Regions from separate parts of the Homo sapiens genome. Here region 2 is linked to region 1. Evidence: promoter capture Hi-C in 16 types of primary human blood cells and fetal thymus (Javierre and others, 2016). All regions are on one chromosome and are shown on one strand. The core of a region is centred on a gene start or on the middle of the fragment in contact, and the rest is flanking DNA. Distances in the headings are between cores, read along the strand shown.

The links. The method cuts DNA at HindIII sites, captures the fragments that hold promoters and counts their contacts. A CHiCAGO score of 5 or more calls a contact.
Region 2: a fragment that was not itself captured here is called in contact with the fragment with the promoter of SDAD1 in region 1 in 2 of 17 cell types (total CD8 T cells and activated CD4 T cells); the score reaches 5.8 in total CD8 T cells.

What each region holds. Positions count from the first base shown.
Region 1 is chr4:75,987,078-75,994,054 of GRCh38, reverse strand. It overlaps SDAD1 (SDA1 domain containing 1), which reads left to right and starts at 3,110. Exons shown (of 22, transcript NM_018115.4): 1 at 3,110-3,303. The coding sequence starts at 3,214. The region is part of intron 1 of SDAD1-AS1 (SDAD1 antisense RNA 1); the gene reads right to left. The HindIII fragment of the contact is 958 bases long and covers 2,282-3,239 here.
Region 2 is chr4:76,950,312-76,957,793 of GRCh38, reverse strand. All of the region lies in intron 1 of SEPTIN11 (septin 11), which reads right to left. Among named protein-coding and RNA genes, the nearest start is that of SEPTIN11, 4.3 kb to the right of the region's middle. The HindIII fragment of the contact is 1,752 bases long and covers 3,385-5,136 here.

The sequences.
Region 1 (6,977 bases), core at 1,861-4,360:
TATATATATTTTTTTTTTTTTTTTTTTTTTTTTTTGAGACGGAGTCTTGCTCTGTCACCAAGGTTGGAGTGCAGTGGTGCGATCTTGGCTCACTGCAACCTCCACCTCCTGGGTTCAACCGACTCCCCTGCCTCAGCCTCCTGAGTAGCTGGGACTACAGGTGCGCGCCACCACGCCCGGCTAATTTTTTGTATTTTTTAGCAGAGACGGAGTTTCACCATGTTGGCCAGGATGATCTCGATCTCCTGACCTCGTGACCCGCCGCCTCGGCCTCCCAAAGTGCTGGGATTACAGGCGTGAGCCACTGAGCCCAGCCAAAAATATATTTTTTTAAATTAGCTGGGCATGGTGGCACACCACCTGTAGTCCCAGCTACTAGGGAGGCTGAGTTTAGGAGTTCAAGGCTGCAGTGAGCTATGATCATGCCACTGCACTCCACCCTTGGTGACAGAGCAACACCCTATCTCTTAAAAAGAGACTTGAACATGAATGTTCACAGCCAAAACTGGAAACAACCCAAATATCCAGCAACTAGTGAATGGATAAACAAATTGCAATATGTCTATATGATGGAATACTACTCAGGAATAAAAGGAGTGAACTATTGATACATACAACACCATGGATACATTTCAAAATAATTATGCTAAGTGAAAGAACCTTGACCTCAAATAATAGGTACTGTATGATTCCATTTGTATACAATTCCAGCAAACACAGACATATCTTTGGTGACAGAAAGCAGATGTGTGTTTGTCTGGGGATGATGAGGCACAAGGAACGTTTGGGGATGATGGATATAGTCATTATTTTGATTGTGATGATGGTTTTATGGGTACATACATATGTCAAAACTTATCAAATTGTTCACTGGGTAGTTTGTTGTACATCAATTATATCTTAATAAAGCTATAAAATAAATACATTATAATTTTAAAAATAAAGGATGGAATTTCACATGAAAGCAGAGATGTTGGCCTTAGATACCCAAATTATTTAACATCTGAAAAATATATATTCAGTTAGCCACTCTTAGTCTTAGAGTTCTCATTTATCAAAAACAAATCCTGCCTTCCATGCTGCTGGAGGTAAAATGAACTGACCTATATGCCCTCCTTAGAATAGCAATTAAAGCCTTTCATATCAGGACAATATAACCTTCTCAGCTCTTTCCCTGCTGCACCCTGCCCTCCCAGCCTTTAGTCACACCAAACTTATGGCTATTGTTTCAATACACCAGACATTTTCAAGTACCTGTACGCAGTCTTTTTTCTTTTTTTTTTTTTTTTGAGACAGGGTCTCACTGTATTGCCCAGGCTGGTGTGCAGTGCTTCACTGCAACCTTAACCTCCTGGGCTCAAGCAACCCTTTTGCTTCAGCCTCCTCAGTAGCTTGGACCACAAGCCTGTGCCACCATGCCTGGCTGATTTTTCAACTTTTTGGTAGAGATGGGGTCTCACTATATTGCCCAGGCTAGTCTTGAACTACCCAGCTCAAGTGGTTCTCCCACCTTGGCTTCCCAAAGTTCTGGGATTACAGGCTTGAGCTACCACACTTAGCCAGATTTTGTTTTGAGAATACTTTTTTTGCCCTCACTAAAACAACCTAGCCAAAAAATTTTAATTTAAATCTATGCTTTTTAAAAAAGATTTATTGCTGACATTTATTTCTTAACTTCACAGGTAACTGATTTGATAATTAATAAATAAGTCATTCTCCAAAAGCAGCTGAATAACATGGTTTGTGAAGCATTCTTTATTTTGTGTGCAGGTGTGATTACAGAGTTGTTTTGTTTGGGGCTCATTTTATCATCGTCACAGATGAGGTTGGCGTTCTATAAAATTGCTTTGGTTAAGCAGAACCCTATTGTCTGGCTATTTTGCCAGACCAGCAACCAGCTACCAGCTGTTAGGCTATGTTTTTTCTCATGTAGTTACAATCAAGACTGTCTAGATTGAAATCTCATCTTCCTCACAGGCTATGAATTGAGGCAGTCAACTTCCCTGAGCTTGTTTCCTCTTCTGTAAAATGTAGATAACAATAGCACCTATTTTAGAGGGTTGTTCTGAGGATTAAATAAGTTAATACAAGTGCTTGGAATAGTGCCTGGCACAGGGTGGGTAATTAGGTTTTTTTTTCTCTCTCTCTAATTCACAACACCCTACCTCATTCATTCAACCCTTATTGATTTTTTACACCTTGAGATTGTAGAAATGTATTCTCCTCTTCGAATTACCAGGATCTGAATTAAAAACTCTGACTGAGGAGTGCTTACAAAGCTTATAACGATGGTTGAATTTTAACGATTAATTGCATTTATTAATGGTCAACATGATCACATTTTATCCAGCCCTCTTTTCCCTTGTATGGGTCACGCTAAGTTGAAACAACCAAAACCAAAATAAAAACATATCTAAAATCATACACATTAACTTATATGACCCTCGTTGCTCTTTTTTCCTCCTAAGAGGGAATAGTGTTATCTAGCGCCACGGTTCTTTTCAGTTTTGTTTTGTTTTGTTTTGTTTTTTATACGGAGTTTCGCTCTTGTTGCCCAGGCTGGAGTGAAATGGTGCAATCTCGGCTTACCGCAATCTCCGCCTCCTGTGTTCAAGCGATTCTCCTGCCTCAGCCTCCCTAGTAGCTGGGATTACAGGCATGCGCCACCACGCTCGACTAATTTTGTAATTTTAGTAGAGACGGGGTTTCTCCATGTGGATCAGGCCGGTCTCGAACTCCCGACCTCAGGCCCGCCTTGGCCTCCCAAAGTGCTGGGATTACAGGCGTCAGTTTCTAATTTTAGACTGCGGGATTAAAAATAAACGATTAATCCTCATTTATGTGCTTCATATGGGTGTCGGAATGACGATACATGCTAACACACGTGAAAAAATTTACATTTCAGATCCTTTCAGAAACGCAAGGCAATATTAAGTAGTAGCATATGCCCAAGGGCGAGGGGCGGGTCGGCGGTGGCTGGCTCTCCAATACACCACAGAGTATTTTGGCAACGAGAGTAATTTTGACACTCTGAGGCTTCCGTAGCATAGCTCGCTTTAGGAACCGCTAAGGTGTCGCCTGCCTAGAGTCCCATGCGCTATTTCCGGTCATACCCGGAAACACGAGTCCAAGCTGCAGCTGGCAGGGATTGCGGGGTGCCGGCCGTCTGAGTTTTTTTAAAACTGCTCGCCGCGAAGTCTGTCTGCAGCCAAAATGTCCAACAGAAACAACAACAAGCTTCCCAGCAACCTGCCGCAGTTACAGAATCTAATCAAGCGAGACCCGCCGGCCTACATCGAGGAGGTGGGAGTGCGGCGCGGCAGACGCTAGAGGCCGGATAGTGGATGGTTGAGACGCCGGTGCGGGAAAGCATGGAGTGGGGCTGGGATCCAGGCTCGCCGCCTATTCTTCTGTTAGGTTCAGGGGTCCCTCCAGAGGAGAGAAGGGGTTGGGGACGGGACATGCCTTAGGGTTCGTTCCCCACCTCTTGAAAATCTGTTGCCCCTTTGGATTTTCTACCTGCCCTGCTGCCGCTGAAACACCTTTAAAACCTCATTTTGTTTTAAGATATTTTTCTTCGTCCGCACGGAAGTGGAGAGAGAAATGGGCCGCACCCAACCACCAACTTCCACGCGGATTTCTCAGCCTCTTTTCAGAAATCCCAAACTTGAATTAGTCGGTAACCTTTGATGAATCGTATGTTAGAATGCTTTCGATTGACGTCCGTTTCTGAGAGCAGGCTGTGTACCCTGGACTGTGCCAGGAAAGGGGGGGGGGGGGTTTCTCAAGCACAACGGACAGACTCGGGAGCTTAGTATATTTAGTTAAGCCAGGATTCAAACTTACCGGAGACTGGCATGACTCGGATGTCAGAATTTGCTTCGGGAAAAGATTAGGTTGAAAAATTAGGCCCTCATTGTGATGGGCTTTGTGTACTGACCTCATGTAAGTTGTGAACATTAGGGGTGTTTGAACCAAGTACCGACAAAACGAAAGTGGTTTTTGATATATTAATCTGACAGGTGCTTCCTTCAGACACTCATTTATCAGACGGGCATTAAACAGGTATCTCTGCTAGGCATTTGCTGCAATTACATGTTTGTGCTTCTACCAGATTGTGATTTGTTCAGTGGCTAACACAATTACTTATTTTTTCATTGCCCTTCTCACTTCCCTCCTCCCCTAAATTTTCACATATATGTATTTTATGAGTGCTTTTTAACACATGGCAATCTCAGTGGCTTAGGTCACCAGTAGAGAAAGCCTCTCCAAGGATCAAGGTAGTGGAAATAAAGAGTAGGAAACAAGTACAAGAAGTTAAGTAACATAGGCAAGGCTTTGAGATGCTTAAAGCATTGTATAGCCATTCGCAAAGAAAGTGGTAAGTTGAGAGTCTATATAATTCCGTTAGATAACTCCTGCTGCTGACTGTTGTTAACCAGTTGTGTAACCGAAGCAGGTTAATCGCTGAGCCTATGTGGGTATTTTAATATGTAAGAAGGGGGTAATAACTACTTCTTTAATTCACTTAAGTATATATGCAAAATCACATATAACTACTGTGTGTTGTTATTCTAGGTAGGCGTTGGGGTACAGTAATGAATAAGACAGATAAGAAAGCATTCTTCTCTTGGACTTACATTCAAGTGAGTGTAGACTTATTATGGTAGAGATTATGAAGAAAATAAAACTGGATGGGAATAGGTTAGAATTGGAGGCTTCTGATTTAGACCCCGTAAACAGGGAAGGTGGCTCTGCAATGATGATATTGAGCCAGGCAGGTAAACATCATTTTAGGTACAAGGAATAGAAAGTGCAGAAGCTACTGGTGGAAAAAAAGCAGAGAAGAAGCCAGTGTAGCTAAAGTGTAGTCAGCATAGAAGAGGGCAGTGGAAGATGATGTAGGAAATGCAGGCAGGGGTCAGCTTATTCAGAGCCTCTTAGGCCCTGTTAACGAGTTTAGATTTCACTCTGAGTGCCTCGGGGAGTGATTGAAGAGTTTTAAGCAGGAGAGTGACATGATCTGACATATTTTTTTTAAGAATTTACTCTGGAAGTTACATGTGGAATGGCTTGTAGAGGAGCAACACTGGAAGCAGGGTAACTAATATAATGGATCTCAGAATAACCAAGCAAGGGATTGTGGTGTCATTGGAATTATGGGCAAAGATTCGTGCTGTTCTACGTGGAGGTAGAGCTAGTAGAGCCTTGGGATTTCTGGTGGAGTGGATGTGGGGGATAAGGAAAAAAGAAGGAATGAAGGATCACCCAGGTTTTTTATTTATATGTCTAGGTAGATGATAGTGCCATTTCCTGAAGTTCGTTCATTTGACAAATACTGTTGATTACCTGCTATATGTAAGGCACAATGCTGGGCCCTGGGACTACATAATATTGAGCTGTACCGATAAAAATTCTATGCTCATTAAATGACATTCTAGTAGGGGGTGATATACAGTAACAAATAATATAGTATGTTAAATAATGAAAAGTGCTGTGAAAAAAAGACAATAGGAAAGTACTTATGTATGTTGGGGGTGAGATGGGTATTGCAGTTTTAAATTGGATAGTTAGGGAAGGTCTTCTTGAGATAGTAATCTTTGAGTGAAAACCTGAAGGACATGAGGGAGAGCTGTGCATATGTTTAGGAAGAATGATCTAGGCAGAAGGAACAGAAGGTATAAAGACCTTGGGGTAGGTATGCCTGGTAGATTTCAGGAACATAAAGGCCAGTGTGGCTCCAAATAGGGAATGAGGAAAGGGGGTGAATTTGGGATTCTACCTCCCAATGAGATGGAAGCCTTTACAGGGTTTTGAGCAGAAGAATACATGAACCACCCTATATGAGAACAAGATCACCGTTACTTGAGGATAGACTGTATGTAGGAGGGCAAAGATAGAAGCAGAGACACCACATAAGAAGCTATTGGAATTATCCACAGCAAGAGATGATGCTGGGTTGAGTGGTGCTAGGATGGTAACAGGAAGTAGTAAGAAGGGTGATTAGATCCTGGATTGGGTAGGTAGAGAAAGCCCTGGGGATTCCCAACATTTAAAGGCCAGTGAGTTTCTAAGTAACTGGAAAAAGGGACTGAGAAAGCAGCCAGTGAAGTTTCGAGGAAAACCAGGAGGTGTTCTGGAAGCCAAGTATAGAAGATGTTCCCAAGGGAGGGAGAACCCAAGCACATCAGATGCTGATGAGTCAAATAAGATGAATACCAAAAGTTGACCACCATTAAATTTAGCAACATGGGGTCGGGCACGGTGGCTCACACCTGTAGTCTCAGCACTTTGGGAGGCCAAGGTGGGTGAATCACCTGAGGTCAGGAGTTCAAGACCAGCCTGACCAACATGGTGAAACCCCATCTCTACTAAAAATACAAAAATTAGCCAGGTGTGGTGGCGGGCACCTGTGATCCCAGCTACTCCAGAGGCTGAGGCAGGAGAATTGCTTGAACCTGGGAGGCGGAGGTTGCAGTGAGCCGAGATCGCGCCACTGCACCCTAGCCTGGGCAACAAGATGAAACTCCATCTCAGAAAAACAAAACAAAAAAAAATTAGCGACATGGATGTCATTGGCTACCCTGATTCATTGAGCAGTTTGGGAAGAGGAATGGGTGCAAAAATCTGATTACAGAAGGTTTAAAAACAATTGGAGTATGATTCTATGTATATGAAATGTATATGAATAGAATATGTCCAGAATAGGTGCATCTATATGGATGGAAAGTAGACTAGTGTTTGCCAGAGCTGAGGGTAAGGGGTATAGGAAATAACTGCTAATGGATTGGGGTTTCTTTTGGTGATGATGAAAAACCTATGGTTGTACAACTTGGTGAATATACTGAAGAACCGAATTGTATACTTTCAAAGGGTAAATTTTATGGTATATGAATTATATCTCAATTTAAAGGATTTTTTGAAAAAGGAGGGCAATTAGGTAACATATGGACAACTCTTTAAAGGACTTTTTCTGA
Region 2 (7,482 bases), core at 3,011-5,510, 960 kb before region 1:
CATGGGTGGAGGCTTCATGGAGGGTATGCTTGATCCGTGCCTCTAAGGTGTGCTATGATTAGAAAATGGGAAGCCTGTGTGGTTCAGGTGTGCAAGAGAAGGGGCAATTGCTCAGTTCCCACTGGGGTGGGGTGGAGTGGAGTGGCAGTTCTGGTTTGAGCCCAGTCTTCAGTATAAAGCCATTACTATTTCAGCACCATTTTCCTCAGATAACCAACTTTTATTGAGGATGAATGTTCCAGGCAGCAGTGTAAGCACTGTGTGTGTACTAACTGGCTTAATCTGTAACTCTTTGAGGGAAGTACTGTTAGTGTTTTACAGATGAGGGAAGTAACTTGCCTAAGGACACAAAGCTTGTTAAATGGTAAAACCGATACTCTAGAACCGGAGCAACCTGGCTCCAGAGCCCACATTTTTCACCCAAACGCTATACACTATGGCCTCTCAGTAGAGAGAAAAACAGAGCAAGGGAAAGAAGGGTGCCATCTGATTCATCTGCATTTAGGGACATATGGCTGGGAAAGGTCCAAAGGGCCGAGGTCCCAAGGGAAATCATTCTGTCAAGCAGCTGGAAGTCCTAATGGCCTCAGAACCATTTCCCAGAGAGTACACTTCCACAGCTGAGGTCATCAGAGAGCAGCACAGAAGGCCTTTCAGAAGGTTACCACCCATGACTTACTTGATGGTGATGTCCCTGGAAGCTCATCACCAGTGAGTAGGAGAATTCACTCTGACTTCAATTCATTGTGGCTGCCTAACTCTTATCTCTCTCTGTCTCTGTCTCTGTCTCTCTCTCTCTCACACACACACACACACACACACACACACACATCATTCTACTATGCCCAGCTAGAATCAGAGCAGGCCAAATAGAGGGAGAAAAATCCTTACAGACAGGGATACAATTTTAAAAATAAAGACTTGGCTTCATAGTAGATTCCTTGACTAGGAATCTAGCCAACTGTTATTCAAAATATTCACTGCCCTCCCTAGAGGGGGATTTACTTCCCCAGCCCAAGGGTCTTTCAGAGCCACTCTTTACAGGAGGATTCTCTATCCTCATTCTTTTGAATTTAGGAATGACCATTTACTTTGGCCAATACAATCTGCATGGAAGTGACCCATCTAAGAGCTTGAGAAGCCAGCTCTTGAGAAGCCAGGGTTCAGCATGTCTCTTTGTCCTCTGCCACCAGGCTGGCAATGCCCAGATAGAGGATACTCCCTCAGCCTGGGTCCTGGAGGCAATGCAGTATGCAGCAGACCTCCGAGGGTGGAACAGCTGCATGAGAAATAAACCCTTGCTATGTAAGCCACCAAAACATGGGGCCAATTTGTTACCGCAACATAATTTAGCTTAACTGACTGAATCAGATGGGAGGTCTGTATGCATGTTGGTCTAAAAGCCTTTGGTTCCAAAGCCTAGCTCTCCCACAAATTTGCTGTAGCAGATTAACTGACAACTTCTTCCTGTCTCATTTTCCTTCTCTATATTACTTCTCAGGTATTTTGTGAGTATAAGGTGAGATAATTGTCTTGACAGTAATTTGAATTGAATAAATTTGAAAATCAAGATGCTGAACAAGCTTCCCGTGCACAGAAGTTTTTGGTCAAGCCTTTTGCCCTCCAACAGCAGGTCAGAGTAAGTTTAATGAGTACCTTAATGAGATTCACAAAATTTATACTGGTATGAAGACAGTACTCAAAGAGATGAGATAACTAAAACAGCATGAAGTCTTAAGTAAACCCTGGCTTTTAACAGACTCTTCTCCTGTTTTCATAAAATCCAATGAGTTTTTAATTTCCTTTTTGGAGAACACTGATTGCCACTTGAAGTCCAAGGTGGAAAGAGTCCTACCATCTTCCCCCCCAGCCCCACCACACTCTTCAGGACTCAGTTGCTTAGGTCTAAGAAAATAATAACTTCTAGTTCTGAATCCTGAGGAAAGGCTCAATGCATAAAACTGGGCAGAGGAAGATCTAGCATTGTCGTTGTCATATGTTGTCACTGGACTCTCCTTCTCTGTGTCCTCTGTCAGTCTTCATTTCCTCTATTCTTTAAGGGTTCAATTTGGGCATGAAAGGAATCAACTCCCCTGATCGTTTCTCAACTCTCCTATTGAATCCTGAAGAATTAGTAGTCTGCAGATTTTCTTTGTCTTCCTTCAACCAATTTCAAGGATCTGAGATATCTTAAGTTATGGGCAAAGGGTGGATGGAATATAAAGCATTTAAAGAGCTACACAGTAAATACATGCCTATAAAGAATGCACTGCACAACTGAGTCTCTTCCCACCTCCTCAGCCTCTTGTCTGTCCACTCTCCCTACCCAACCCTAAGGCTGACGTTCCTGCTACATTGGATTTCTTAAGAGTCTCTCCCTCACTTCCAGAGCTTGGCACATGCTGTTTCCTGGGCTTGGAACACTTCCACAACCACCTCCCCATCTCCCTTTCCTTGCTAAATCCTATTGCTTACTCAGCCTATAGAGAGATTTCATGAGAGCAGCAAAGACTGCAGTCAAGTACTCACCAACATAATTTCAGCACCTGCATATAGAAGGTACACAAGAAATGTCTGATAAAACAGGTGGGTTGGAAAGGCAAGAATGAGTACTGATGTGTTAGGGTGTTGAGGATTATTTTGTTTTTCAATCTCTAACCTATCCACATTATTGTGCCTCAACTTCTATAAGAGAAAAAAAATCAATTCTTCCCAAAGGAATGTTATTATCAAAAACAAGTAGGTAAATTTTAATGTTATGCTATATATATTTTCATTTCCTTTTTGTACAATAAAAATGCAAAAAAAAATAAATAAATAAATAAAAAAGAAATCACACACAGACAAGAACAAACAAAGCTCCCACTTGTCAGAAAAATGGTCCTTTTAGAATATGGTCTCTTTCCCACCTCACCACCTCAGCCTACCCCTCTCTCAATGTTTCACACTCCATCCTACCCAGTCACAGTTCAGCAGGTGGGCAGAATGTGTCCACAGAACTGGACTTCCTGTGCCATTTGGCTTGAGCGATGTGCTCACACTCATTGGCGTCGATCCTAAAAAGAGGTGGCTCTGGTGCCTTGGCTTTGTCATATCAGGGAACAGACTCCTGATTTCTATCTCAGGTCAAGCCTGGAACAATGTGAATTTCATTTTAGATCGCCCAGCAAATTCCTTTTAGAAGTCTGTCTCTATTACCTTAGCCCAAGTATTGTTTTTATGTTCAACAGCTGCTGCATTGATGGGCTGCCAGCAGGCATGAGTGGGTCAGGGGAAGTATTGTTATTTGAGAGTTTTCTGTCAATCCAGATTTTTAAAAAGGGGGCGGGGGAGGTTATCAATTATATTGTAAAGTAGATCTCCTTGGAAAAAAGTATAGAAGCTTTAGATGTGTTGGGTTTCATTTAAATAATGGTTCAGCTTTGCTAACCCCATTTGAGACAGGTCTAGCTAAGACTATGAAAGATGGATCCCAATAAAATGATAAAATCCAAGAGCAGCGTCTATCCCCAACCAAATTTAGAGTCCTATAAAGAGAAACACAGGCACAGAAAACTCTGTGGGCTGCGCCACAGTCTAAATCCGATGATCATGATCAGTGTGACATCATCATTGGGTAGAATATAAACACTTGGTCTGCTGGCAATCAATCAAGTAGGCCATCCAAATCAAGGAAACAGCAGAGTCCCACAATCATTTGTTCCTTTTGCAGACATAGGATGGCCCATGCCCAAACACTAAGCATCCACTTCCTTCATTTTAAGAGTATTATTCAAATGGTCACACAGGACTCATTCAGGCACACAGTTTGGTTTCTAGGTGGCAGTTTATACAAGATGGGTTATGTCTGCTCAAAAAAGTGGTGAAATAGACTAAACACCTAAGAACTATTATATCAGGATAGTGGGTTATGGGCAGTTTTGTTCTTTTAATCAATTCCTTGGGTCTCCTTTTCACTGTAATGTAGACACATCATTTTTAAAGATGATAATTTAAAAGATAAATTAATCTATAACTTTCGAAAGATTTTAAAAGGAGAGATTATTGTACCTCAGAAACTTCTTGCATTCCTTAATAACTGCTTATAGAGCCTCAGTATGTATAATTTATATCACTGACTAAAAAGTTCTAATTTTTGAAAACTGACCTGAGATGACAGTCCCTTTATTGTTTAGGTGGCCCTCCCCTGGACCTTTCTTGGCTCCATTCATGTTTCTCCAGGCACACCGACCACAGCCATCCATCTGGGGCCACATTTTCAAGTCACAAAAATGGCAATTTTATAACAAGGGAAAGTAACATTTTATTGGCAGTACTCCTCCACTTCCCACACTCCCTGCCCTCATCTTTAAGAATTGCCTATAATTATCCCCAGACAGATATGATCCTTCACCTGAATCATATTTGCTGAGTCAGCAATAGGCATATAATTCCTTTTCTCCCTAAATGATTTACACATTTACACTGAAGTCTGTCACTTTAATACACCAAATCTCTCAAACAATAAAGCTCCTGGTAAGAAGAAAACTTGTCCACTGCTATATCCCCAACACCTAGAACAAGTTCCTGACACATAGCAGGTGCTTAATAAATGGTGTTAAATGAGCAAATGGAAACTTGGTTTTCCATTTCCTTCAGCTCAACAGATAAAACAGCAATTAAGTGCATTTCTTGAAGGATATCATAGGGAAATCTCCACCACCAGTGAAGTTTAAACACATATTTTTTGTTAGGGATAAAGTAAGAAATATTTCTGCACTGGGGAGCAGGCTAACCCAAATGACCTCTAACGTTCCTTTCAACTCCTAGAGTTTTTAAACTGATGAACACCACAGCTTAGGAGAGGCCATCAGCTACATAAAGCCTGATTCCCAAGTAGAGTAAATTGCCATGTTCTGTTTAAAATAAAGATAATAGCTGCCCCGGGATTTGGACGCAAAAATGCTAATTCATCCAAAATGCAGACACATCCCTTGGGAGTAAAATGTTCTTGCTAATCATCAGTTATACTAGGCAAACAGCAGATGTGCTTCAGGGTCTTCTTAGGGCTAAGCCCAAAAACCATCAGTGGGGAAATGGAGAAGCTAGGGATCAAAATTAAAACTGAAATAAACAGTATCACACTAAATTGAAGCTTTGTTTTGCAGTCAACAACAAATCCACTTAAGAAACTTACCTGAATTTAGCCTTGAGGTTTGAATGGTTTGTAACAGAATATAACCATTTCATAAGATAGAAAATAGTGCATTTGACATGTAAGCATTTTTGCCCACTAAAATGTCATATTTACCTGGGATATCACACTCAGATGTTCCCATTCAAGAATATCAAAAATTTAGGGTAAGTTATTCAGATTGCATTTTTCTTCAGTCTGGCGGGGAGAGGTAGTTATCGCAAAAGGAGATATATGTCCTAAATAACTTTTTAAAAAATCTAATTAAATACCTAGGGAAATTCCATTCACACATAAATCAACTTCGGAGTGGTTCTTTTCCCTCAGCGCACCCTTCCTTTCTTTTGGTGAAATCACAGACTAGATAAGAAATGGGAGGGCCAGAGAACTCTTAACTTTAAAGGTGCAGTGTAGATTCCATGGAGCTGTGTCTCAAGAGTCTTCCCCATTCATTGACTTTGTTTTAAAGCCATAACTGCAGAGACCACACTTAAGACAATAGCCCAATGAACAAAGTGAAAGGATTCAACAATTATCTGTGAAATGTGATCACATATTTTCTGTAGACTTTCTAACTTTATAGTCAATTCCTAATCACTCGTACATTAGGTTTCCAAAAGAAAAGTCTTCTGTCTTTAGATTGTAATTTAATTTTAATTCCAGTGACAACAGAGTGCGCAGAAAGAAGTCACTTCCTCTGTGCACGTATACTTAAAAAAAATCTCCTCTATTATCTGAAGAGGGAGGTCTAACATAAGAATTCTGTGGGATTAAGCTCACATATGGTTGGCCGACTTGGTGTTGGATGTGATTACGGCCACACAACTAAACCTTAAATCCACATACTGTTCCTATTTAACTGACATATATGAACTAATTTATAGAAAATGTGCAGCTAATTATTTCTTCCACCTCCTCCATCCCTCAAGAATGCACCAGCAATAATACGTGTTACTGAAAAAGCCAAACACCCCCACTGAATATTTGCAATCCTAAACGTTTGCCAATTTATCTAAAGCAGATATTGTTATTTTAGTTCTCTGAATCTATGCCTGCTAATAAGTATAATGGGGGGCAGGGGGAGGAGTAATTTAACCAGATAAATTTCACCTCTATAGACCTCAATTTTCTCACCAAAAATAAAACGACTAGCCCAGAGACTATGCAAATTCCCTCAGTAACAATAACCTACATGTGACCACTAATTATCAAGAGCACAATTTATGTGCAAAAGAAGACCAGAATTCTTAAAAGAGCCATGTCATTAAATCGTAGAGTTGAAAAGGCCTAAAAGACAGTCATGATTCGATATGACCGCTGTGTTTTCTGACTGCAGAAAACGTCTTTGAAAGCACCGCGGGCAGCCGAACCACCAAATCGAATTAGAATCCGCAAAGGGACCCATGAACTTCTCCCGAGGGGGTAGGGTGCAAAAGGCGCGCGTATCTGGGGAGGAGTTAGGCGGGGAGAGGGGGAAGAGCCGGGAGCCTGAGAGCACAGCCTTGCATTTCTGGGATTTCCGAGCTTCCAGTATCTCAGTAAGTCTTTCGTCTGTAACTACAAAATCTCCCGAGCCACCACCTGCAGCTGCACAGCTGTGGGAAAGGGAAGAAGAAAAAGGGAAGAGGAGGTGATAGACAGGGAAAGACATCGCCCGAGGCGCCCCCAAAGCCAGTAAGGCGAGTGGACTGTGAACATCGACGATGAAAAGGGGAAAGGGAAAACAGGAGGACTCCGCCTTTCCCACCCAGCTCCGCTCCTTTCAAAAAAAAGGAAAGGCCGCCGCCGCCCCTTCCTCCGCCTTTCACTTGGGGATGCGGAGCGGCCACTGAACCGCACCCTCGGAGTCCCGCTCCCCTCCGGCCCGGCCCCGGGGCGCGGACCGAGTCTTGCAACCCAGTAGGCGCGGCGCCTTGGCCCACACACTCGGGGCAAAGGTATCTCCTCCCTCCTACTCTCCTCCCTCCCGCCGTGGGGCACTCGATTCTTCACGCACCCGCCCGCCCTTCCTCTTCCTCGCGTCCCAGCCTCCTCAGCCCGCCGCCCCCGGCCTTTCAGCCGCAGAACATTTCAGTCCTTCCACCCACACCACAAGGGAGCCTCCAGAAAACTTTGTGTGTGTTATCTGGGGCTTTGTCCACATCCTGGGCAGGGCCCGCTCAGCCGGGTGGATGCCCGAGGGTGTCCGGGATCTCACAATGCGCTGGGGAGGCCACCACGGAAATCCCACCCCTCTGACCTGCTTCTACAGCAGTGCCACACGCAGCACTTCAGCTCGCAATTCCCATGCCCTGAGCGCCCCCTCGGCG